Regions from separate parts of the Homo sapiens genome. Here regions 2, 3, 4, 5 and 6 are each linked to region 1. The links are contacts of gene promoters, found by promoter capture Hi-C in blood cells and fetal thymus (Javierre and others, 2016). All regions are on one chromosome and are shown on one strand. Each heading gives the region's core, a stretch centred on a gene start or on the middle of the fragment in contact. The rest is flanking DNA. Distances are from core to core; before and after follow the strand shown.

Region 1 (3,778 bases), core at 849-3,348:
GTTTGTTTGTTTGTTTTTATTTTAGAGACAGGGTCTTGCTGTGTTGCCCAAGTTGGTGTCAAACTCCTGGCCTCAAGCAGTCCTCCTGCCTCAGCCTCCCAAAGTGCTGAGATTACAGGCATGAGCCGCCACACCCAGCCAGCATATACTATTACTGCCTGAATATGCCGCTACCTCCTGACTCCTGCCTCCTGTCGGCTACTTGAAGCTTATTCTGACTTCCTCAGACTCGGCTGGGTGACTGTCTTCTGTGATCACCATTACAGGACCGGGAATCACTGAATTGTTACTTGCCTGTCTCTCTGACTGCATTGAGCATTCAGAGGTCAGGAACCTAGTCTATTTTTTTTTTCTCTGAATCTTCATCACCTAGCACAATGTCTGTTATAGACGAACAGATCTAAACTGAATCCAGGCCCTCTCCCCCTGATTCCACCCTGTGAACAGCCAGATTCGTTCGTGGGCACAATGGGTTCACTGCTGCCTTCCTGACTTTCCTTTTTCTTTACATCCTCACCTGAAATGCTGTTCTTTCACGTCTCTGTCTCCCTTCATGTCAGTCTCACCTGTTCTTTATGGTCCAGCTCAATAAAAACCCCTACCACTTCCTGAGCCCATGCCATGTGGGCTATATTATCATAGTTCACCTTCAGCAAAACCCCTTTAAGGAAGGCATTATCCCTATTTAACAGGTGAAGAAAATGATGCAAACAGCCCTGAGGTGTTGTTCAGAGTGTGGCAGATGAGACAAGACTTGCACACAAACACCCACAATGCAGGCAACCCGGGTTGCCTCCCTGTCTGCTCTGATCTCCGGTCTTCTTTGGTCCTCTTTTCTGTACTTCTGGAAGGCACTTTGGAGATCCTTTTGTCTGCTGCTCCACTGAGAATTGAGTCAACTAAGAATTGTTTAGGGCAACACAGGTGGTTACTGGTGGAGGCCAAACCTCAAATTCAGTAGTCTAATTCGGATGCTTGACTTTATTCCACACCCAGAATATCTTGCTCAGTTTCAGTTGCAGTAACTCAAGTGATCAGGAACTGTCCAGCAGGGTTAGTGAAGTCAGCACAGGTGGGGCAGCCTCTGTCCACAGCCCTGAAGCTGCAGAATTCTGACCGTGCACGGCCTCGGAGGATTTTCATCCAGGGATTGTCAGGGGGAAGTCGCTGGAGTGTTTTAAGCATGGGAGTGTGTGGAACAGATTTGAATTTTTAAAAGTTCATTGTAGAGAATTAATTGGGGGCTGGAGTGAATGGAGTGACGATTTAAGAGATGTTCGTGGTCCCTTCAGGTGAGAGATGGTGGCAGCTCGGACCGTGTTGCCGGAACATAGACAAGTGAACTGATTGGAGAGATACCTAAGGAAATAAAATTGTTAGGATTTGTCCGTGGACTGCCTACGAAGTATGAATCTTGGCTACAGTGTGACCTTGATTAAGACACTAAAGACTTAATTTGTTCCTCATGGATAAGATGATGCTACTACTTTGAGAGGTTATTAGTAAAAAATGAAAAGCGCTGTACATGCATTAGGTATCAGTGAATGTAGTTCTAATTCCTATTATGCATATGCTTTTTTTTTTTTCGTAAAGAGCTTTTAAAATACGGAATGGGTTGGATCTGCAGTAGCTTGTCCAAGCTGGGGGCTGTATTGTTAAATTCTTTTTAGTCTAGTGCTCCACTAGCTCCTCTCCTACTGAGCTGGGGTAAGAAGCGGAGCGTATACGGAGGAGGCGGGATGCATTTCTGCATCGAGCGCACAAAGGTGTGGCGGAGGGGGCTCCAGAGCTGGGAGGGGTCAATCTACGGGCGAATCCTGGCAATTTTACTCCCCGCGATAGATGACCTCGCGTCCTAGATGAGTTTCTAGATTCTAGAATCTAGAGGACGCGGTGAACAGAGACGAGTGGGGGCAGCTTCGCGAGCGAAGCCGGATGGGGGCGGGGCGGGTAGGCCGGAGGCGCAGAGTCTCCGCCGGGACCGCGACCCCGCCCCGCTTTCCGGGGCTGCCGCTGGTGACGTCGCGAGGGGGTGGGCCCGGCGGCCACGGGGGTGGGGCCGGCCGCGGGGCGGGGCGGGGCGGGACGGGAGGCGGTGCGTCGCTGAGCGCAGGCCGCGGCGGCCGCGGAGTATCCTGGAGCTGCAGACAGTGCGGGCCTGCGCCCAGTCCCGGCTGTCCTCGCCGCGACCCCTCCTCAGCCCTGGGCGCGCGCACGCTGGGGCCCCGCGGGGCTGGCCGCCTAGCGAGCCTGCCGGTCGACCCCAGCCAGCGCAGCGACGGGGCGCTGCCTGGCCCAGGCGCACACGGAAGTGGTGAGTGTCACCGGGGGAGGTGGAGGAGCCGGGGCGGCCGCGGTCGGCAGGCGAGGGGCGCGCAGCCCGGACTGGCCGGAGGCGCGGCCACCGCTCTTGGTCGGTCCTTAGGCTGCGCGGCCCGGGCTGCTCCTGAGCGCAGCTCAGGACCCCGCGGCTCGGGCGGGGAAGGCGGGGATTTCCAGCCCCGCGGAGCCGGCGGGCGGCGAGGAGGTCGCCGGGCGGGGGCCCCCGGCCGGGAGAAGAGCGGTTAAGCCAGGCCGCCCCCTCCCCCAGCGCGCACGGCAAGTTTTCATAAACAAGCCCGGAGCGCGCTGTCTGACATCCTGTTTATACCACCCCGAGATACAGGCGCGGGCTGGAGGGCTGACGTCCCTAGCTCCTTGTACCGCGAACTTGACCGCCAGCTCCCGGCCGGGGTGGCAGCGCAGAAAGGTTTTCTTCTTCGGCCCCAGGAAGGAGGCTGAGGGTCTTAGCTTTTTTCCTTCCTTGCGGTCTCAGCGAGGGAAAGTTTCTGGGATTTGGAGCTGGGTGTTGGGCGTCCGCGAACTCGGGAAACGCCCCCTCCCCTCTTAGGTTCTGTTAGGAACCAGGCCTCAGGTAGCCAGCGAGAAGTGGGAAAGGAGACCCTGGGCGAGAGGACCAGGGAAGGGGAACAGTGGGAGAGAACTACCCGGGGAATTGCGAATCCCACTGGAAAGGGACTGATTAACCGAAACTGGGGCTGGTCTCTGGCTCCCTCACTCCAACTCCATCCGCGCATCGTCGGCGACCGGGAGCATCGGAGGACTAATAGACACTCCTCCAAAGTCACTCCCCAGGGTCCCTGGGATGTGGGCTCCTTGGATGTGTGTTTACCACGGAACTTCTAGATAAAAGATGCGATGTTTGCCAGGTGTTTGTGCACACGTTTTTTGGAGGGTTTGCACTCCATGATTTCCTGTGTGTTCCTGGGGAAGGGGACCCCGTCCTTCCTGCCACTCTTCTTACTACGTGGCTGTGAGCTGCCTTCTGCCCCTGGTTGAGTACATCGCTATACATGTCATTGACACTTTTCCCCCCAAGTCATAGGGTTTTTCTCTCACTGGCAGGAATTTACAGTGGTATAAAATTGTCATTACTTCTTTCAGGGAGTAAAACATGGGTAGTTAAGTGATGAGAATAATGCAGAGAGAGATGTAAATCAGGGCGTGTTTGGTTTTGGCTATTTTTTTATTTTTTGAAGAAAAGATTTGAGTTAAATATGGGTATAGGCACAGTAGATTTTGTTTAAGATGAGCAATTCGTATTGATTGAATCTTTGTTCTTCCCTTTCCAAAACCCCATTATGTGTTGTTTCTTGATTTTGCTTTTGGTGACTCTGATGTTTTCCAAGACCAGGGGATTATTTTCATTGAAGGATCAATGTGTTCTTTTGTACTTTGTGGTGAAGATTAATGGAGACCACCAGGGTTCCAGACATTT
Region 2 (3,838 bases), core at 1,023-3,522, 1.3 Mb after region 1:
AAGATCAATGCGTTCTGGTACAATATTCCTTCTCATTTGCTTAATCCAGCCAACACGGTTTTTCACGATGCAGAGGTTTAGCAGAGCCGCCTCATACTATAGTCTTACAGGAGTTATTATCTCTACCCTGCTGCACAAATTCACCATGCGCACGGCTTCTTTGTGTCCAAGGTCATTATAAGCAGGTGCCCCTGTAACAGGTCCCCTCAAAAGGCTCACACCTAACATTTTCCAACCCCTCCTAGCATTTCTGCGTGACTACCAGGATCCATAAACAACAGCATGCCCTGGCTTTTGTTTTCCTGTTTGACAAGTGACTGAACTTCAACAAGAAAGCCATTGAAAGAAAACAAAATCCTCTTCTCTCCACCATTCAGTAGAGCCCTCTTACACAGGACAGGGTGCCCCTTGAAGCTAGTTAGAATGTAGATAAAACAGCTTAAGACCGGGAGTGTGCTTTAAATGTCTAAAAAGCAACAGGTACTTTGTCAAGCAACAGAACACAGCATAATACCTAAGAAGCTGAACTTAACATTCCTGTATCCCAGTGTGGCTAATGTAATTTCTGAAGTATTTTCACAATATACAATCACTGAAGTTACAATGAAACTTAGCTGGATGTTAGTAGAATTGAAGTGTATACCACATATAAATCCTTGTACGTTTGTATACTTCTGTAAAATTAAGGTTATTTGGAGAGCCAGAAACATAACAATACTTATCATATACCCACCCCATTGGCAGCTGCCATCTGCACTATTGTTTCTATTGCTGATTTATTAAAGTACCGCCCATCTCCACCAACCACCAGTGATGATCCCTGGCGATCTTTTAGGTCTATGGAAAAGAATATACTCTGGATGAAATTCTCCAGATAGCATGGCTTTTCCTCAAAATAATAGGTTTTCTTCCGTAATCCACTTGTTCCTGGTTTCTGATCGTGGTAGGGAGCTGTAGCAAAAGTCAACAGAGGGAGAGGACCTTCTTCCATTTTTCTATATGTCCCAGAAATCCATTCTTCAAAATCACTCATCCTTCACTTCCACCGACTGGCTCAGTGAGGGTGTCCAGAAAGCAGTCAAGGGACTCCAAAATAGGTCTGTCCAACCTGAAGCTGCAACAGTGTCGTATGAGTAACTAAAATAGAGGGTTTGCATGGACGATCACTCTCAATGAGAAAGCTTGGTTAATTCCTTGTTGTTGTTGTCCCTTGTGAACAAGTTAAGGGCCACACACCCACTCGCACCCACACACAAAGCAGGTCTTCAAAGTTGTTTTGATGAGGACACTTCTGCCCACTTAACCAAGCCAAATACCCTTCAATTATTTTTGTCTCATTTCCCCGTTAGGGTAGAGATAGCTCCAAGGAGTGCTGCATGCAGCCAACTTCAGCTGTAAACACCAGGTGGCTGACAGGCTCCACTCTCAGAGCCCAGGCAAAGAGGGCAAATGCAGTCCCACGAAGCAGATTTGTGAACAAGACACCCTGGTGTGGCTCTCACTGCTCCTGCCATCCCTTAAACCAGAGCCTCTCTGGGCATTCATCTCTGAGAAGGCCATCTGCAGCTAAAGTTGCCCCATGCCACCTAGCAAGTTAAAGGTCAATCTTAAAATGGAAGTGAGGGAGCTTAATTTACCCCTGGTTTTCTTACATCACTGTCATTTTGAAACCTAAGAAATTATTTTTACTTCACACATGCAATCTATCAGGAAAAAAATTATCTAACAGATTTATTCATTGGCCACCAAAGATTTAAGAAAACAGTGTTCAGTTCTAGAAGAACAGATACCTCCAAAGTTGCCCTGAATAACCAACAGCTTGGTCATTCCTTTGAATATACAAAAAAACAGGCGTGAGGATGCACCAAGTCCTTAAAAATGTAAGCAAAACACGGAAAAAATATACATATGTTTTTCTGAGTACACAGGGTTGGATCGAGTTTTTATTTAGAAAAATAATATGAACATGAGATTCGTTTTTAACATTTTCTCAGTTTTAAGCATACTTGACTTTTAATAAAATGTTTTTAGGGAAGCAGTTTAAGTCCTTTGTATTTGAAGAAACTAGGATGTTTAAAAATATTTTACCTAAATAAATTTCATATCTAATTCCATTTGATCCCTGAGATTTTATTAATGATCTATTTAAATACATACATGTGTGTTCTCAGCCAGGCATGGTGGCTCACACCTGTAATCCCAGCACTTTGGGAGGCCAAAGTGGGCAGATCACCTGAGGTCAGGAGTTCGAGACCAGTCTGTTCAACATGGTGAAACCCTGTCTCTGCTAAAAATACAAAAATTAGCCAGGCATGGTGGCGTGCACCCGTAGTCACAGCTACTTGGGAGGCTGAGGCAGGAGAATTGCTTGAACCTGGGAGGCTGAGATTGCAGTGAGCTAAGATCGTGCCATTGTATTCCAGCCTGGACAACAGACCAAACATGCACTGAGGAATTAAGGTTTTGAAGGGAAAAGTGAATCATCCCTTGAGCAACAAAATCTGAGTCTTTTTATACTAACTTGTCAAGTAGCATCCGAAAGTAGACAGGCACTGGTAGCTGCCAACTGCCCTCTGTCAAGAATGCCGCTGTGTTCCGGGGCTGCTCTGCACAAGACCAGCAGGAATAACAGGCTCACAAGCAGAAAGTAGGCCACTGGCAAGGGAGCCCCTTCAAATGACAAATGGGCCTGGCCCATGTGCAGGAAATACCTCGAGACATAACATTAACACAATTCACAAAACACATCTATTATGTTGAAAACCAGTCAGCCAAAAGACGACTACTTTTTATAGCTTATTTTGGGCTCTTAATTTGTTTTTAAAAGTCAAATTCTTTAGAAATTAATTGAAAAAGCAAGCATGCTTTATTAACAGTTTACATAACCACTGTTTTTCAACGTACTATAAATGATTTTTTAAATTCCTATTTTGTAAGTTCTGTGCCAAGTTTTCCCTGGTTTTATATGGGCTTGTGAATTAGGCTGGCATGTGTGTCTTGACATATCCGATAATAGATCCAGATTTATAAAATATCATTCCAATAATCTTTTCATTGGAATAACAGAGCAGCCAACCACATAATTGGTAGTTTTCTTAATGAGATCTTGAAATCCCAGGGTAAATTTGGGGGTACTTGGGCACAAGGATATTCCCACATCCCATACCAAAGCCTCTCTGCCCACATAATACACCACACTCCAGCATAGTCTCTGCTGGCAGCCTCCCAGTCTCTCGGTGAAGTTCTTTCTGAGGGCAGAATTACGAGAGCAACATTTTAAGCAACGACACATGCCAGGCATGGTGTTTGTCAATATGCAAAACTATACCAAAAGAACATAATCCTTGCCCTAGAAAAGCTTCTATTCTAAAAATGGGCCTGATCATAATTTTATGAACACTATAGAACTCAACCCCATATAAAAATATTACCAGAAGCAGCAATGTTAGATGGACTGTGAAGTATAGTAAAAAAGAAGAGACATTAAAAACATTAAGCTTCCTAAGACACTCAGACTAAGTGGGGCAGCTATTAAGAAACTCATTTGTTTTAGCTCTCCAGCAAAGGTTGAACTTCATCTTCAGAAACGTTACTGTCGAGCATAGCGAACCCAATTTGGCCTAATGAATTCGCCTGCATTGCCAGTACTCCTTCACAATGACACAAATTACATTTAAACCATATGGGGGATTTAAGGATTACTCCCTTCAGACAAGGAACTTTCATACTGGTCTTGGGTCCAATCAATTTCACAATGGCAGAGTTATGAACCCCTTCGCTCCCAGCCTTGCAAAGACTCCAGCTTCCATTTGCATCAGCAGTGATACCTTCCCAGTAG
Region 3 (3,619 bases), core at 591-3,090, 1.3 Mb before region 1:
ACAATCAGTCTTTCTACTAAAAAAATTACCTGTTGTTTATCTGAAATTCAAATTTAACTAGGCATCCCATATTTTATCTAACAACCCTAAATAAGAAGACTATTTTTCATATCTCTATGAGTCTTGCTTCTCCAACATTCTATATTCAATAGGATTTTCACAGAAGGGAAAGATAAAACTGTGCTATTCCCTCTGCCTGCAGTTCTTTTCCTCTGGGTTTTTGCATTTTGATTTTAAGCTCAATTACAGACTTCTTAAGCTTTTCCTGGCCTCTTTATCTAAAACAGCACTTCCTTATCCCTCCAACCATCCCTTACGCTTTGCTTTCCAGTCACTCCTTATCCCATTATCTTGTTTCCATTGTCTGAAATTATCTTTTCACTCTTTTGGGCACATGGACTTGTCTGTCTCTTCAAGTCATTAGAGTGTCATCTTCTGAGAGAAGGGCATTCACTGTCATGTTCACTGCTGTACACCAGTACCTATAACAGTGCCTGGCACAGGAAAAGCTTAAATAGCCAAATAATACTCTAGGTGTTAAAATGAATTTTGTGAGCATTGAGGACTGAGGAGGTCCACAGAAAGAAAAGCTGAGTATGGGTTTATGTGATCAGGGAGAGCTTCTTGGAGGAAGTGGATTTTAGTAATGTCCTATAGCAGTAGTTTTAAAAGAAGGTGAGAATTTCTTGAATAAGGCGAGGGACATTTTCCAACCCTGTATGTCCCTGCTTTCCCCATTCTCCTCACTGGGTCTACGAGAATTTAGTGTGGGAGAGGAGCACTGTGTTTATTGTCAAAAGGCTTCCCAGATGATTCTGATATGACCCCTCTATGTCATTTGAAGACATCTACCTTAAAGGATGGGTAGAATTGGACTAAGTAGAAAGCATTGAGAATGGCATTATCCGCATGGAAAAATGTGACTTGAGCACAAAGAGAGGAAAAGGACCACTAAATATGAGGGACTGTTCAGATCAGAGCAGAGTTAAGGAGTTTAGGCTTTAGCTTATGGATGATGGAGAACATAGGAAAGATTTCCAGAAGGAAATGAAAGAGTAAAAATGGGAATTGATAGGTGTATTTTTACCAGGGTCAGAAAACCGTGATGTAGCAAACATGGTGGTCCACTTCTTAGTTTTGTAAATAAAGTTTTATTAGAACCCAGTCGTGCTCTTTTGTTTTATATTGCCTATGACTGCTTTTGCTGAAAATTCAGCACAATGCCTGTAATGTTTATCTCTTGTCAAACTCTACAAGCCCTTTAAAATTTTGCAGAAATGACCTCACTGACAAGATTGGACAAATTCATTTTGTAGGATGATTATATTAATATGCTTATTAACTCCTAAATACCTGAAAGGATTTTGTACATGTAGGTACTAGGTTAAATGCTGGGTTCTGTATCTTCCTGAATTGTGAGTCCTAGGTCTTGCTCATCATCTACCATATTTACGATATTCTATCTGCATGTGGTTCTGATAACATATTTCAGTGGTGTGATGGTGTCTTCTAACCTGACACAAAATAGAAAACTACTGTTATAAATAACCACATAAGCAAGTTCAAGTCTCTTCCCAAAACTGACATCTGATAGCTAGAGGTTTGGCATGAAGCTTGGTTCCCAGCAATAATACCAGACACATAAGCAGGCCAAGTGTCATGGTTAAGTTTCCCAGTAACTCCAAAAATATCCGCTCTTACCTGTTTTCCCATAAGGATACACAAATGCTAACCTCCATCCTTGTCACACTTCTAGTACTCTCTCAACTCTAAGGCTTACTTCTGGGAATGATCTAACATTTTATGCAAATAGCTAGAGTTTGGTTTCTTTGGATTCCTAAGAGCCTCCTTCTGGAAATGGTACTGTCTTGGATGGCTTTAAAGATTGGTCAAAGGGTACAAAGTTTCTGTTAGGAGGAATAAGCTATGGAAATCTATTGCACAGCACGGTGACTTTAGCTAACAATAAGGTATTGTATGCTTGAAAATTGCTGAGAGAGTAGATCTTAAATGTTCTTACCATAAACAAAAAGTCTATGAGGTGACAGATTATATTAACAAGCTTGATTTAATCATTTCACTGTGTGTGTGTATATATATATATATATACACACACACACATATATATATAAACATCATGCTATACACCATAAATATATATAATTTTTATTTGTCCATTATACCTTAATAAAGCAGGAGGGTAGGGGAAGAGATTCTAATTCCCTCCCAGCCCTGAGGGCAATGTGGAAGCAAAACTTCCTCTTGGCTACAGCAGATCAGGCAACATTTTCTCAAGAAATGTTTATCCAGGGTCTACTGTTCAAGGTGTTGTGGTTACAATGGTGAAAAAATAACCACTCATGAATGACTCGTGAATAAGTATTCTTAGTGCCTAAATGGAGCTATATTCCAACACAGGCAATTGAATTAGAGTGGTATGAACAGAGTGTGGGTAATATTTGGATGCCATGGAAACCCATAGGATGGGCATCTAGCAAGGTCTTGGGTCTTCTTAGAGGAAGTGGTTTCCAAGTGATAAACTGAAGGAGTTACACACAGATAGAGGTTGGGGAGGGAAACCTCAAGAAGAGCAGGTATGAAAGCCCAGAAAGAGAAGAGCACCAGTGTCTATGTTGACAGTGTTTTATAATTAATTGTCGATCATCTCAGCATAGCCAAAAAGCCTTATAGTAGATTCTAATCAATCTCTGATGTGTTGCACCAGAAAGCAAGCAAGAGCTTTTGCTTTTATTCCACTTTTTGTACTGCCACCAAATCTTTTTGTGAATGCTGACCAGTCACTTTATCTTTCGGAACATCAATTTCTCATTTGTCTGATGAGGTTAAGAATACCAGCCCTTGCAGGACTTTGTAGTAATTCAATGAGACTACATGTGGGAAAGTGCTTTGTAACCTCTAAAACACAAGAGATTACTATTCTAATTCCAGCCACCACCCAGGCCACTCCCTGTTTCCACCTCAATTGCCCATCCAGATTTGCTCAACAAATGAAAGCTAATTTTAATATCATCTGCTGACAGTAAATCAATCAGGTGATCAAAGCCAAAAGACCAGTTTATAGATTTTCCCAAGCCACATAACAAGACAGCGTATGTGGTGGTAACAGATGACAGTAAGATGACCATCAAGGACACATCTGTGGTTCTTTTTTATAAATGTGGAAATTAGTGCAGGGAAGAGTCTTGGGAATGTCACGCAGCTAGGAAGCTGATGCTCAGAGAGGCTGGTTTGTGGATGAACTGTGCTTTTCCATTGCCTCCTGTCTCCAAGGCCAGTGGGTCACTTCTGCTTCAGGCTCTTCTTGATTCCTCCAGAAATGAGTATAGGACAGAGCACTGCAATTTCGAAGCAGTTTAGCTTTCCCCATTTTCACCCAGTGATGCTGTGTTCTAATCTCTCTTTGCTTCTGGGCTTACTGTAGTTGAACAGTCCAAACCTCTGTGGTTTGAGAGGCTAATGGCCACCTCCTAAACAAAGTCAATAAGTTGGCTGAGCAGTAAGCTCCAAGATTTAGGAAGAGCTTTCTCTAGAGTTATAAAAGCCCAACGAACATGTTACTTATATCTCTCCCATCACAAAGTCATGACTTAGGAGAAGT
Region 4 (3,784 bases), core at 1,259-3,758, 1.4 Mb after region 1:
GCTGTCTCTGACCTTAAAATGGAAATGCACATAAGTGGCAGAAGGATATAGATGAAAGGTGTAGCAAGAAGCAGCAGCTCTAGTTCATGTTACTCCTTTTTAAAAAATAGTTTATCTAAAATCAATTATTACAACGTTAAGAGAGTATTCCACCCTAAAACCAAAAGTGTATATAACACTGAAGAGACAAACACTGTATAGTTATCCTCCCAGATAATTTCATAAGATTGATAGCACCTTAGTAATACATACACATTGATTCACAAACTAAATGCCATAGTAGTGGAAGGCATGTTAAACTTTTAAACTTAGCAGATTCCTTCTCTTAGTATATTTTCAAAACAGTAACAAAAAAAAACTCGGATTATTTTAGAAATAATGGCAAATTAGAAGTAATTTTAATTTATTGGCCAGGCGTGGTGGCTCACGCCTATAATGCCAGCACTTTGGGAGGCCGAGGCAGGCAGATCACCTGAGGTCAGGAGCTCGAGACCAGCCTGGCCAACATGGCAAAACCCCGTCTCTACTAAAAATACAAAAATTAGCCAGGCATGGTGGCGTGCAACTGTAATCTCAGCTACCCAGGAGGCTGAGGCAGGAGAATCGCTGGAACCCAGGAGGCAGAGGCTGCAGTGAATCAAGATCGCGCCACTGCACTCCAGCCTGGAAGACAGAGCAAGACTCCGTCTCAAAAAAAAAAAAATTTATTGGATGTCTGCCTAAACATTTAATGTATATGAATTAAACACAAATACTTAAAATTCAAAATAGAGCATTTTAGTAATTTTAAAATTATGTAAATCAAAATTAAACATGACTTTAAAAGTCAGTCATGTGCATTTGCATTTAAACTACTTTACAAATAATGTATTTTATTTAGACATCAAATAAATTTTAATCTTGTCAATTCTTGTATTCCTCAAAATACATTTCCTCAAATAGATCTTATTGGATACAAACTCAAGACACTGCTGCACAAATATGTCAGGGTTTTGGTTTAAGAAAATTCATTATAAAATTGGCAAAATAACTCAGTTTCTCTACCCATAAAGTTATTAGCCTTGATGAAACTGACATGAGTAGTCAGTGTTATCTAGTACTGTTGTTTACTACTCTCTCATGACTAAAGATGTCCAAATCATTTGATACTCCTGGAAAGAACCAAATTTGGTGGTTTTGGGGACCTTTGTAATGAGAGGAATTTTTAAATGTGATAAAGGACAGAAGCAATAAAAGACAAAACAAAAAATAAAAATAAGAAATAAAAAAACCCCAACTCAATTCTCTTTTAAAAGTTCACTTATCTCTCAGTACTTCACTTTTTCAGACATTCCACCCATTTTTACACATCCTTTACACTTTCCTCAGTATGGGTCAAATTCAGGCTAGTGACTTAAGAGGCCAAAAGCGTTTTAATTTTATTATGATAAATCTTAAAGCACCAAAATGAGAATTAAAAGTATCTTAAGCAAGTAGTAATTGATAGAAGCTTTCAATTACCCATCTAGTTTGTATAAACATTGAAAGTTTTATTTTGTAGTTCCTAGAATATGTAACTATATGATATGACATAATAGCTTACTGTAGTTCCATTGCTCAAGCTTCACTAAGAAACTGGGATGATTCAACAAGGTAATTCTAATTTCAGTCTTTCGGACCTATTTATTAACTTTCAACAAAAAGGTGAAAGATTTAAAAATTTTAAAAATTTACCTAAGTAAAGTTGATCTTTAGAAATAATGTTTTCCAAGCTGCTTTTGAAGACAGTTAAGTAGGCAGCTCTACAATTCATATAAAATATTTCCTCTTCAGTTAGTGGAAATTTCTTTGTTCGAGGACTCTCTGAAGGTGTTGATTTCTGACTGGAGAAAGTTGCATCGCTTCGTGGACTGATCGCCATTCTATTGGAAAATAATTTAAAAATGTGTTTGTCAATGTGAGTCACTAAAACACAAATGTCACCATGTCTTTCAAATACAGGGAGGAGAATCAAGATTTTATACATAGAAGAAAATTTATAACATATATGAAAAGATCAAGATATTAAAAGTTTTATATGTGGAAGTAAAAGACGAATACTATAGTTGTATATGGACGTATTATATATTAAACAAGAATAAGCCTTTGGCAGTTAATTTCTAATTTTAGATATATACATATGTATATATATAATTGTTCAAATATGTGATAATAGCCAAAAGAACAAAGATATACACAAGAGAAGAATCACTGAACAAAGGAAGAGCACACATCTATTCTCTCAAAATACGAAAGTCAGATGACAGTCTTCATCAGGTTTTTAAGAGGAGCAAATCAGTTAATACATGTGAAGCATATACAATATTGCTTGACACGTAGTAAGTGCTAAATAAACTGCAGATAATGAGAAACTCCAGAATAATGAGAATCGGGATATGAGTGGTAGTTGACACCCATCTTCCACAGCAGGATCAACAAGATCATTTCATTAACATCTCAATAATGCAGCCCCACATTTCAAATAGCTATATTTTAAAAGTCTTATTTATAGCATTATCATAGTTTTACTGTGTTCCTTTATTAATAACAATATTTGGGGTTTGTATAGCACCTCTGTACATAAGAGCTTAAAGAACTGTCATACATCTTGTCTTATCCCTATTACAGCGGTCAGGTATTTTTTTGTCCGTTTTACAGATGAGGAAATTGAGGGGTAGCAATGTCACCCAGCTAGCAGTAAGTGGCAAAAAGCCGTAAATTTCACGAACAGTTTCTTCTTTGTTAATGTGGATATAGTACTGAACAATGGTTACTATGGGGTATTAGATTCTACTGGTGGTCTAACAGCTTCCAATATTACTCTACCCAGCTTTGACTTCTAAAAATAGATCTCCAACCTAATAAATTGAATATTTCAAGTTCAATAATAAGATAACACAGGTAGGGTCCCCTTCAGGACTCATTGCATTCCTACTCAGGAGGCCTAAATCACTTGCACCTTTTCGAATTATATAGATCATTTACACTTGGGAAAGAAAGATAATAATTGCTTATCATGGATGAAGTACCCTATTTATAATACGCAGGCCGCCTGCCTGACACTTTCATATTACACCAGATTTAGAAGGACCCCACAGGGATGTGGTGTCACAGTCTGGTTACTGCAAATTGGTAATACTATAATTAAGCATCAGAGTTCTAAACACATATGTGTGCATGCATCTCCTCACAAATGTGAAAGAAAACTGTTTCAAGAAGTAAGGGAGAATGAATTTCACTTTGCAATAAGCAATTTTAAAATATAAGTATATTTTAGGATCGTCCTCAAATATTCTTTCCAAACAAGGCAACTCCCTCACATGGAAATCCCAAGGCAGAAATGTGCCAGAATTTTATTCTTTTCCTTTCTGTGACGAGAAACCAAACTAAAGCTTAAATAAACATATAATTGCACCCCCCGCAGGCTTGGAAACCTCCCTTACTTAAAACTCCGGCCCGAGACTGAGACAGGGGCCTAGAGAGTACATTGCAGCAAACGGCTCCATAAATAACCAGCCACACAATAGCAAGAAAAATAAACTGTTAACAAGCGCCTAAGGCTTCTACAGGGCCAAGTGAAAACAGAAAGCCGTCCAGTCACCGTCCCTACACAGTGAAATACCGTCACAGGTAATCTCGGGCACCATCTCTCTATTTTTGTATTCCTCTGGAAATAAAACCGCATTTACATGTACATTTTAGGTACATACATGGACCAAATGTTTATGACAGAGAAGTAGACAAAGCAGAGGAAGGAGAAGCAGCT
Region 5 (3,377 bases), core at 878-3,377, 1.4 Mb after region 1:
TCATTAGACCCAGAAGTGATTTTTAGAGACCAGGAATAGTTTCAACTAAAGAATTCGTTGGGATTCTCTTGGACTTTTCAGTAACATGGGCCAATAAAATTCCTTTTTCACTTGGAGTAATCCAAGTAAGGTTTTTGTCATTTGTACCCAATTGGGCTCTGACTAACACGGAACCCCTCTATATTGGTTGAGGCTGTTGAGGATTAGAGGAAGGTGGGAGACCATCTGGGTGGCTCATATCTGCATCACGTTGGATTGTGTCCTAATACCAACAAAACATTGATAACACACCTATCATTCGAACAGTTTCCAAGTGAGGTACTTGTAAATATGTTGTTTCATCTAATCCTCACAACAGGCTCTTCAGGTATGTATTATTCCCAACCTTTGTGGATGAAACAAAAAAGGACTAGAAATTTGTATTTGTATCTAATCTAAACTCCCTCAATTTGTATTCATTCTGCTAAGAATTCCTCCTACCAGACAAACCCACTCTGGGAACTCCAAGTCATTCTTTAAGACTCAATTCGGCTACCACCCCTCTATGGAGCCTCCCTCCCTTCATCTTCCCCTCCCAAGTACAGCCCCTCAGGTTAAAGACACCTGCACATCCCTCCATCACAACACCTGACACATTGTGCTGTCTGCTTACTCCTGTATACCACCCCTCCCAGACTATGTCTTTCCCAAGGGCAAAAATATTTTGTATCTCAAGTACAATGTCTGAGGCAAAGCAAGCACATAATAAATGTTTGATGTGAATAAATTTATTGGTCACCAGCTACATGCTGGCTTTAAATCAAGTGCTAGAATACAAAAGTGACTCACAGTTCAGAGCAAATAAACAAGAATTCATTGAATGCTACATAGTCCTAGGCATTGCAGATACAGGTAAAACACAGGTCTGACTTAAAGAAGCTTACTCTCTAGTTGGAGGCCGTTGACATGTAAACGGAAAATTTCACTAGAATTTAATATATATATTCTAGAATTATCTATGGGAAAGGAGCACTTAATAGGTGGAGAAGAGTGGTAGGGATGGGGTGTCAAGAAAGGTTTCTGAAGATGCCATCTGGACTGAATCATATCACAAGAGAAAGAGTAGCATATTTAAATCCCGAGTGAGTAGAGAGAGTGAACAAAATCAGAGAACAACCTGAGCGTAGAAACCTAGGGAATAGGCCAGGCGCAGTGGCTCACGCCTGTAATCCCAGCACCTTGGGAGGCCGAGGAGGGTGGATCACCTGAGATCAGAAGTTCGAGACCAGCCTGGCCAAGATGGTGAAACCTCATCTCTACTAAAAATATAAAAATTAGCCAGGTGTGGTGGTGCATGCCTGTCATCCCAGCTACTCAGGAGGCTAAGGCAGGCGAATTGCTTGAACCTGGGAGGCAGAGGTTGCAGTGAGCTGATTGCGCCACTGCACTCCAGCCTAGGCGACAGAGTAAGACTCCGTCTCAAAAAAAAAAAAAAAAAAAAAAGAAGAAGAAAAAAGAAAGAAAGAAAGAAGAAAGAAACCTAGGGGATAGTCAATGTGCAGCCCATGAAGGAACTTCCAAAAAGTGTGAGTAGAATCAGGAGAGTAAGCAAGGCCAAGGGAGGAAGAACTTTACAAGAGTACAAAATCAGCACTGCCAAATGCAGCAGAAAGGCCAAATAAGATTAGACCAGAGTGTATTCCATGAATTTAGCAACTGGCAAGTCCCTAGTAACTTTGGCAAGAGCAATTCTACTGGAGTAGTGGAGGGGGCAGAAGCAGTGAAATGGCGAGTAAACCGGAGGTGAGAATGAGAAATAGTGAATGCAGAAAGCTTTTACAAAGGTTGGCTGAGAGAAGAGCAATAGGGCAATGGCTAAAGGGTGATGAAGTTTTAAGAACTTTTTTTTTTAGTCTTAACTAATTCTTTCCTTCCCACCCCACACTACTCCCAAATGGACAAATTTCCATCTGGGCACCTAAAATTCCCACTCTGCTGTAAGCTCCTTAAGGACAACTCTTGGGTCTGCATCATCCTTTTAGTCCACACATTTCTCTGAACATGGTATTCAACAGGATCTGTTGAATGACTGACTGAATAAATGAATGAATGAATGAAATGCAAATTCAGCACAGGTGGTAACAGGGAAATGATCTACTGGGATACAGCTATTGTCTGTTCTTCTTTCATGGGAATTTGCGCTTGTCTGAAAATTCAGGACCACAAAGTAAACAAATCCAGGCAATCTTCTCTCACTGATGCTTATAAATGTTTGGCCCAGGAAGGCAGATGTAGATAGAGCCCAGTTTAGATTTTGGAGCCTGGAAAACAGATCTTCAAGATCAAGGGCTGTTCATTCTTCATTCTCAGGAGCTGTTCAAGTTCTTGGGATTGGCAGATCTATATTGGACTCTTAGTGCTGCCATTATAGTTTTTGTAAATTATTTAACCTACCTAAGCTTCAGCGTCCTCGTTGGCAACTTGAAGATACCCATAATAGCATCTACCTTATAGGGCTGCAGGAGGATAAATGAGACCCAGAAATGAAGCGCTTACCATAGTGCTTGGCAAATAGTACTCAATGTCAACAAAATAAGATAAATAAAGTACTATTAAAATGAATAAAAATATCCATTTCAGGGGATGCGTTCCAGAAGAATTGGGCATAAGTCAAATCTCACTTAAAATATAGAAAGAAAACTTGGTCCTCAGAACTCCTTAGAAATGTTTTACAAAAGTAAGTGAATAATTAGCCCCAACTTATCAATCCACTTTTTTTTTCTTTTTTTTTTTTTTTGAGACGGAGTCTCGCTCTGTCGCCGAGGCTAGAGTGCAGTGGCGGGATCTCAGCTCACTGCAAGCTCCGCCTCCCGGGTTCACGCCATTCTCCTGCCTCAGCCTCCCGAGTAGCTGAGACTACAGGCGCCCGCCACCACGCCTGGCTAATTTTTTTTTTTTTTTTTTTTTTTGTATTTTTTAGTAGAGACGTGGTTTCACCGTGTTAGCCAGAATGGTCTCGATCTCCTGACCTCAGGTGATCCACCACCCTCAGCCTCCCAAAGTGCTGGGATTACAGGCGTGAGCCACCATGCCCGGCCCCACATTTCCATATATCAGATTTACTGAAAAACTTTTTTTTTTTAATTTCCCCTATCCGAGTGGACCCGCCCAATCAAGTCAGTTAACTTTCCTTGGCCGGGGGCGGAACCAAGGTGTTGCGGTAATTTCCTGGCCTGCCACGACTGCTTGCTTGCGTAAGGGCGTCTTTGGGTATGTTGCCATTCTAATGAAAATTCAGCTCCAGCCCCGTCGGTGGAACAGATCCCGGGCACCACTGGGCAGAGACTAGATGTTTCAAACGCCTGCCCCCCAGCAAGCAGGCCGCGCAAAGGGCAGGA
Region 6 (3,769 bases), core at 191-2,690, 2.0 Mb before region 1:
ATGATACATAGTTCTTCCATACATAGTTCTTCCAAACAATAGAACACTATGACTCCATTAAAAATAGAGATATCTGTTTGTGTTGATAGAGAAATAAATGCCAAAAAAAATTAGGAGTATAAAGAAAACTGTAGAACAGGGCGTAAACTGGGCTGGAATATGAAATAATATGGAATAAATTTTTTTTCCTCAAAAGGACATACAAGAACCTGTTAACAATAGTTACCTCTAGGGAATGGGGTCAGGGAGAAGAGGCTTTTTTCATTTAATACCTTTCTGTACTGTTGAAATTTTCTAACCACTTTCATGTACTATGCATTCTTTCTTAAAATGAAAGTCACTGGGAACTGATTATCTTGTGGAATTATGAGACATTTTCATTTTCTTCCTCTAAATTTTGATTTTTAAGAAAACCTAGTACTTGTTACTATTTTTTAAGCTGTAATTTTGAAAAATTCAGTGTTTTAGGGGGTACATATTTATCTTATCTGAGATGGAAAACAACACTAGAGAGACAGAAAGACTGTACACAGAGTATGAATGGGCTAAAACAAATTAAAAACAAACTCTAGCAACTTTTATAGCAAGTTGACCCTCACCCACATATTTGTATGATTTAGTTGATAAAATTGCTAATAGTTGTAACGAATATTCAATGCCTCAGATTTGCTGAAATAATTCTCTTTTATATTTTTCTAGAACATGGTGGGAAATGTCCCATACAACAGAAGACTATAATTTGAGAGAGAGTAAAGAAATAACTAACTACAACATTACCATTATTTTCACCAAAAAAACCCTAACAACAACATAGTAAAAACATGAAGTAATTACTAGATTTTTTTATTCCAGGCAATCAAAAGCTTATTTGCAATGAGTATTACCGTCTGAACAAATTTTTCCCCTCAAAACAATTCTACCACCATTTCTTTTAAGTATTGCCGTCATCTACTTAGTTATGTAGACTCTAAGTCAGAGATTCTCACAGCAATGGAGATGGGGATAGAAGCCTGGAAAGAGGGGTCCTACTTTAGGGTGAAAGATGGTTACCGTGCCAAGGGCTGGCTCACCATCCCTCTCCTCCAATAAAATTAAGTTACTTAACTTTGTTATTACTCTCAGGAATTCTGGGGTATAAAAAGGTTAAGAATGTACTGAAATTAAAATTAGCAATTTACTACAGTATTAATAATTCAGAAGTAAAATGATATCATAGAAAATAAGGACTGGGAACAGTGGCACACGCCTATAATCCCAGCACAAGACAGGAGGATCACTTAAGGCCAGAAGCTCGAGACCAGTCTGATCAACATATCGAGACCCTGTCTCCACAAAAAAAAAAAAAAGCCGGGCATGATGGCACATGCCTATAGTCCCAGCTACTTGAGAGGCTCTGAGGGAAGGATTGATCACCTGAGCCCAGGAGTTTGAGGTTGTAGTGAGCTATGATTTGCGCCACTGCACTCCAGCCTGGGCAACAGAGAGAGACCCTGTCTCAAAAAAAAAAAAAAAAGAAAGAAAGAAAAAGAAAATAAGCACTAGGAATCTAGGAATACAGAAGGCTGGGTTCCAGTCTAAACTGTGCCATAGATGAATTGCACGACCTAGGACAAACTACGTAAACTCTCTGCTCACTTTCATTTTCTCTATGATCAAAAGATTTAGATTTCTTCAAGACCTAACTTTACTTTTATTATAAATTGCTCTAGAAACCTAACACTACTAAGGAGTATGCAGCTAAATGCATGGGATATGTTTAAATTTATTTTTTTAAATCTAGGACTGTTAAAAAAATCTCAATTTGCAAAAACAATTTTTTGGGGTGCTACTTCATGAATTTCATACCTACATAATAAGTTATTGTTCTAAGCCACAGAATAAGACAAACAGAACAAGCCCCAAGCAATGACTGGTACTTGAACAATTTAATCACTGCAATGAATTTTGAATGAACATCAAGCCAGGCAGGCATTTCTAGATAGCTGATTACTTTTCATAAAGACATGCTTAAGCTTCAATGGCAGTGTTTTATTTCTGAATTATTTAGAAAACTGGTTAGTCTCACTTACCAGAATTATCTTAAAGTAATTCACTTGTTTCTCCCACCAAACCTTTCCCACCTATTAAAGTACCCTAACTCTTAACTGCCAATGAATTAAGATTTTTAGGACTCTCACGCACTGGTGATCTTGACTACTTTTAAAATCTTAATAGCTCTGAAGTATAAACATGAAAAAAAATTCATTATTAGTGTCGAGAATTATTTGAAGCTTAAATTCACTGCAGTGAAACACATTTTGCTTAGAGTAGAAATTAATGTTTTCATAAGTAACATTTAACATAATCCTTCGTTAAAAAAATCCAAATACACTCAAAAAATACTAAGCAAGGAGTCCATTTTAAAGAGAAATGGATAGGTGTGAAAGTGAATAAACAGATTATATACCCTCTTTGAAAGTACTAAAATACTTAAATAGAAAGAAGCAAATCCATTAATTTTCTCTTTATATCACAGAAATGTGGCCTAGGTGAAAAGACAGGTCTTGAATTGTCCATGGATTTTTTTCCTTGAGAAGAAAGTCCCTTACGTGTTTACAAACGCTAAAATACAAGACAAATTGTTCGTTCCCAAAGGTCCCTAGTACATTCCTTATAAAACCCAAAGGATTAACTATTTCTTCCTCTCATTTTTTCTCTCATTTTCCTCTTATTTTTGCAGTTAGTAAAACTGCAACTATCCTGTAATTTCCTTCAAGTGTGACTAGGAGAGCGTCCTTTTAGAAGGTTGGTAAATAATTTTAAGGGATAATAAGCAATGAGAAATATTGCCAAAAAGTATTAAGCAAGGGAGCATATGCTATTTATTCTAAGTACATTAAATACGGCTTTAATGTTATCACAACTGAAGAACCAATATATACTTCCTATTATGGACTAAGATAATCAGATCAAATATAAAAAATTAGTATATCCTATTCTCATCTAAAGCACTTTCTATTCAAGAATTAAATATTTTTCTGGAAAAACATGGTCAGGGTCATGCTCTTGTAGGAAGCATCAATTTTTTTTTTTAAAAGCCCAGAAGCATAATACCTACATTTTTCTCTGGAGACATACTTCTTCAATAACCTGTTTTCCCCCTCAGATTTAACAAATAGATATATACTGTTGCTTTGCACTTACTGTTACTTCACAAGCTATCCTTAAATCCTCAGATTTATTTGATCAAAAGCACAATAATTCAGCATCTGGATTATTTAATCACATGCTTTTATATTGGCTTCATAAAGAATGAATCTACTGAGAGCTCAAAGTAAAAGCCAACCAAGCATTTCTCCTTTGTCTAATTGTTTAAAACCACTGGTCTCAAAAATCGTCATAATTATTCAAGTATTGAGGCCAGGAAAACTATAAATCAATTGTACTTTTCACTTCTTCACCTGTCTTAGATTTTTTTGTAGGACACAGATCACGAAAGTTCCTCTAACTCTTCCCCAATTCACTATACATGAAACTATCTACAAGTAACTGAAGAATATAGAAGATAAATTGTTTAAAGATACCAGGTCATTAAATAAACACTAAAAACCAAATAAAAACAAAATTCCAGTTCTTTCCTTCTTGCAGTTGAACAATCCATGCGTTCCCACAAAACATTCCATTCTCCAACTGATAAAATATTTAAGAAAACTAAAACATACATTAGAAAATATTAGGAAATGATTAGTGAATCAAAATATTTTTTTCCTTTATCTTACAATAACGCAAC

Evidence for each region. The method cuts DNA at HindIII sites, captures the fragments that hold promoters and counts their contacts. A CHiCAGO score of 5 or more calls a contact.
Region 2: a contact is called between a fragment that was not itself captured here and the fragment with the promoter of JAK1 in region 1, in 1 of 17 cell types (neutrophils). The highest score is 6.8, in neutrophils.
Region 3: a fragment that was not itself captured here is called in contact with the fragment with the promoter of JAK1 in region 1 in 1 of 17 cell types (non-activated CD4 T cells); the score reaches 5.3 in non-activated CD4 T cells.
Region 4: a contact is called between a fragment that was not itself captured here and the fragment with the promoter of JAK1 in region 1, in 1 of 17 cell types (naive CD8 T cells). The highest score is 6.2, in naive CD8 T cells.
Region 5: a fragment that was not itself captured here is called in contact with the fragment with the promoter of JAK1 in region 1 in 5 of 17 cell types (naive CD8 T cells, total CD4 T cells, fetal thymus and 2 more); the score reaches 6.2 in naive CD8 T cells.
Region 6: a fragment that was not itself captured here is called in contact with the fragment with the promoter of JAK1 in region 1 in 1 of 17 cell types (activated CD4 T cells); the score reaches 6.2 in activated CD4 T cells.

Annotation. Positions count from the first base shown.
Region 1 is chr1:64,964,869-64,968,646 of GRCh38, reverse strand. JAK1 (Janus kinase 1) reads left to right here and starts at 2,098. Exons shown (of 25, transcript NM_002227.4): 1 at 2,098-2,314. RefSeq lists a silencer at 1,874-2,753. The HindIII fragment of the contact is 15,152 bases long and covers 211-3,778 here.
Region 2 is chr1:63,620,656-63,624,493 of GRCh38, reverse strand. The region is part of intron 1 of PGM1 (phosphoglucomutase 1); the gene reads right to left. Among named protein-coding and RNA genes, the nearest start is that of PGM1, 29 kb to the right of the region's middle. The HindIII fragment of the contact is 2,177 bases long and covers 1,184-3,360 here.
Region 3 is chr1:66,301,844-66,305,462 of GRCh38, reverse strand. The region is part of intron 7 of PDE4B (phosphodiesterase 4B); the gene reads right to left. Among named protein-coding and RNA genes, the nearest start is that of SGIP1, 230 kb to the left of the region's middle. The HindIII fragment of the contact is 449 bases long and covers 1,616-2,064 here.
Region 4 is chr1:63,523,689-63,527,472 of GRCh38, reverse strand. EFCAB7 (EF-hand calcium binding domain 7) reads right to left here. Exons shown (of 14, transcript NM_032437.4): 2 at 1,714-1,901. The coding sequence starts at 1,900. It also overlaps a transcript of ITGB3BP not described here. Among named protein-coding and RNA genes, the nearest start is that of EFCAB7, 2.1 kb to the right of the region's middle. The HindIII fragment of the contact is 1,809 bases long and covers 1,604-3,412 here.
Region 5 is chr1:63,594,360-63,597,736 of GRCh38, reverse strand. All of the region lies in intron 1 of PGM1 (phosphoglucomutase 1), which reads right to left. Among named protein-coding and RNA genes, the nearest start is that of PGM1, 2.6 kb to the right of the region's middle. RefSeq lists an enhancer at 3,290-3,349. The HindIII fragment of the contact is 626 bases long and covers 1,815-2,440 here.
Region 6 is chr1:66,932,150-66,935,918 of GRCh38, reverse strand. The region is part of intron 2 of MIER1 (MIER1 transcriptional regulator); the gene reads right to left. Among named protein-coding and RNA genes, the nearest start is that of MIER1, 9.0 kb to the right of the region's middle. The HindIII fragment of the contact is 1,149 bases long and covers 866-2,014 here.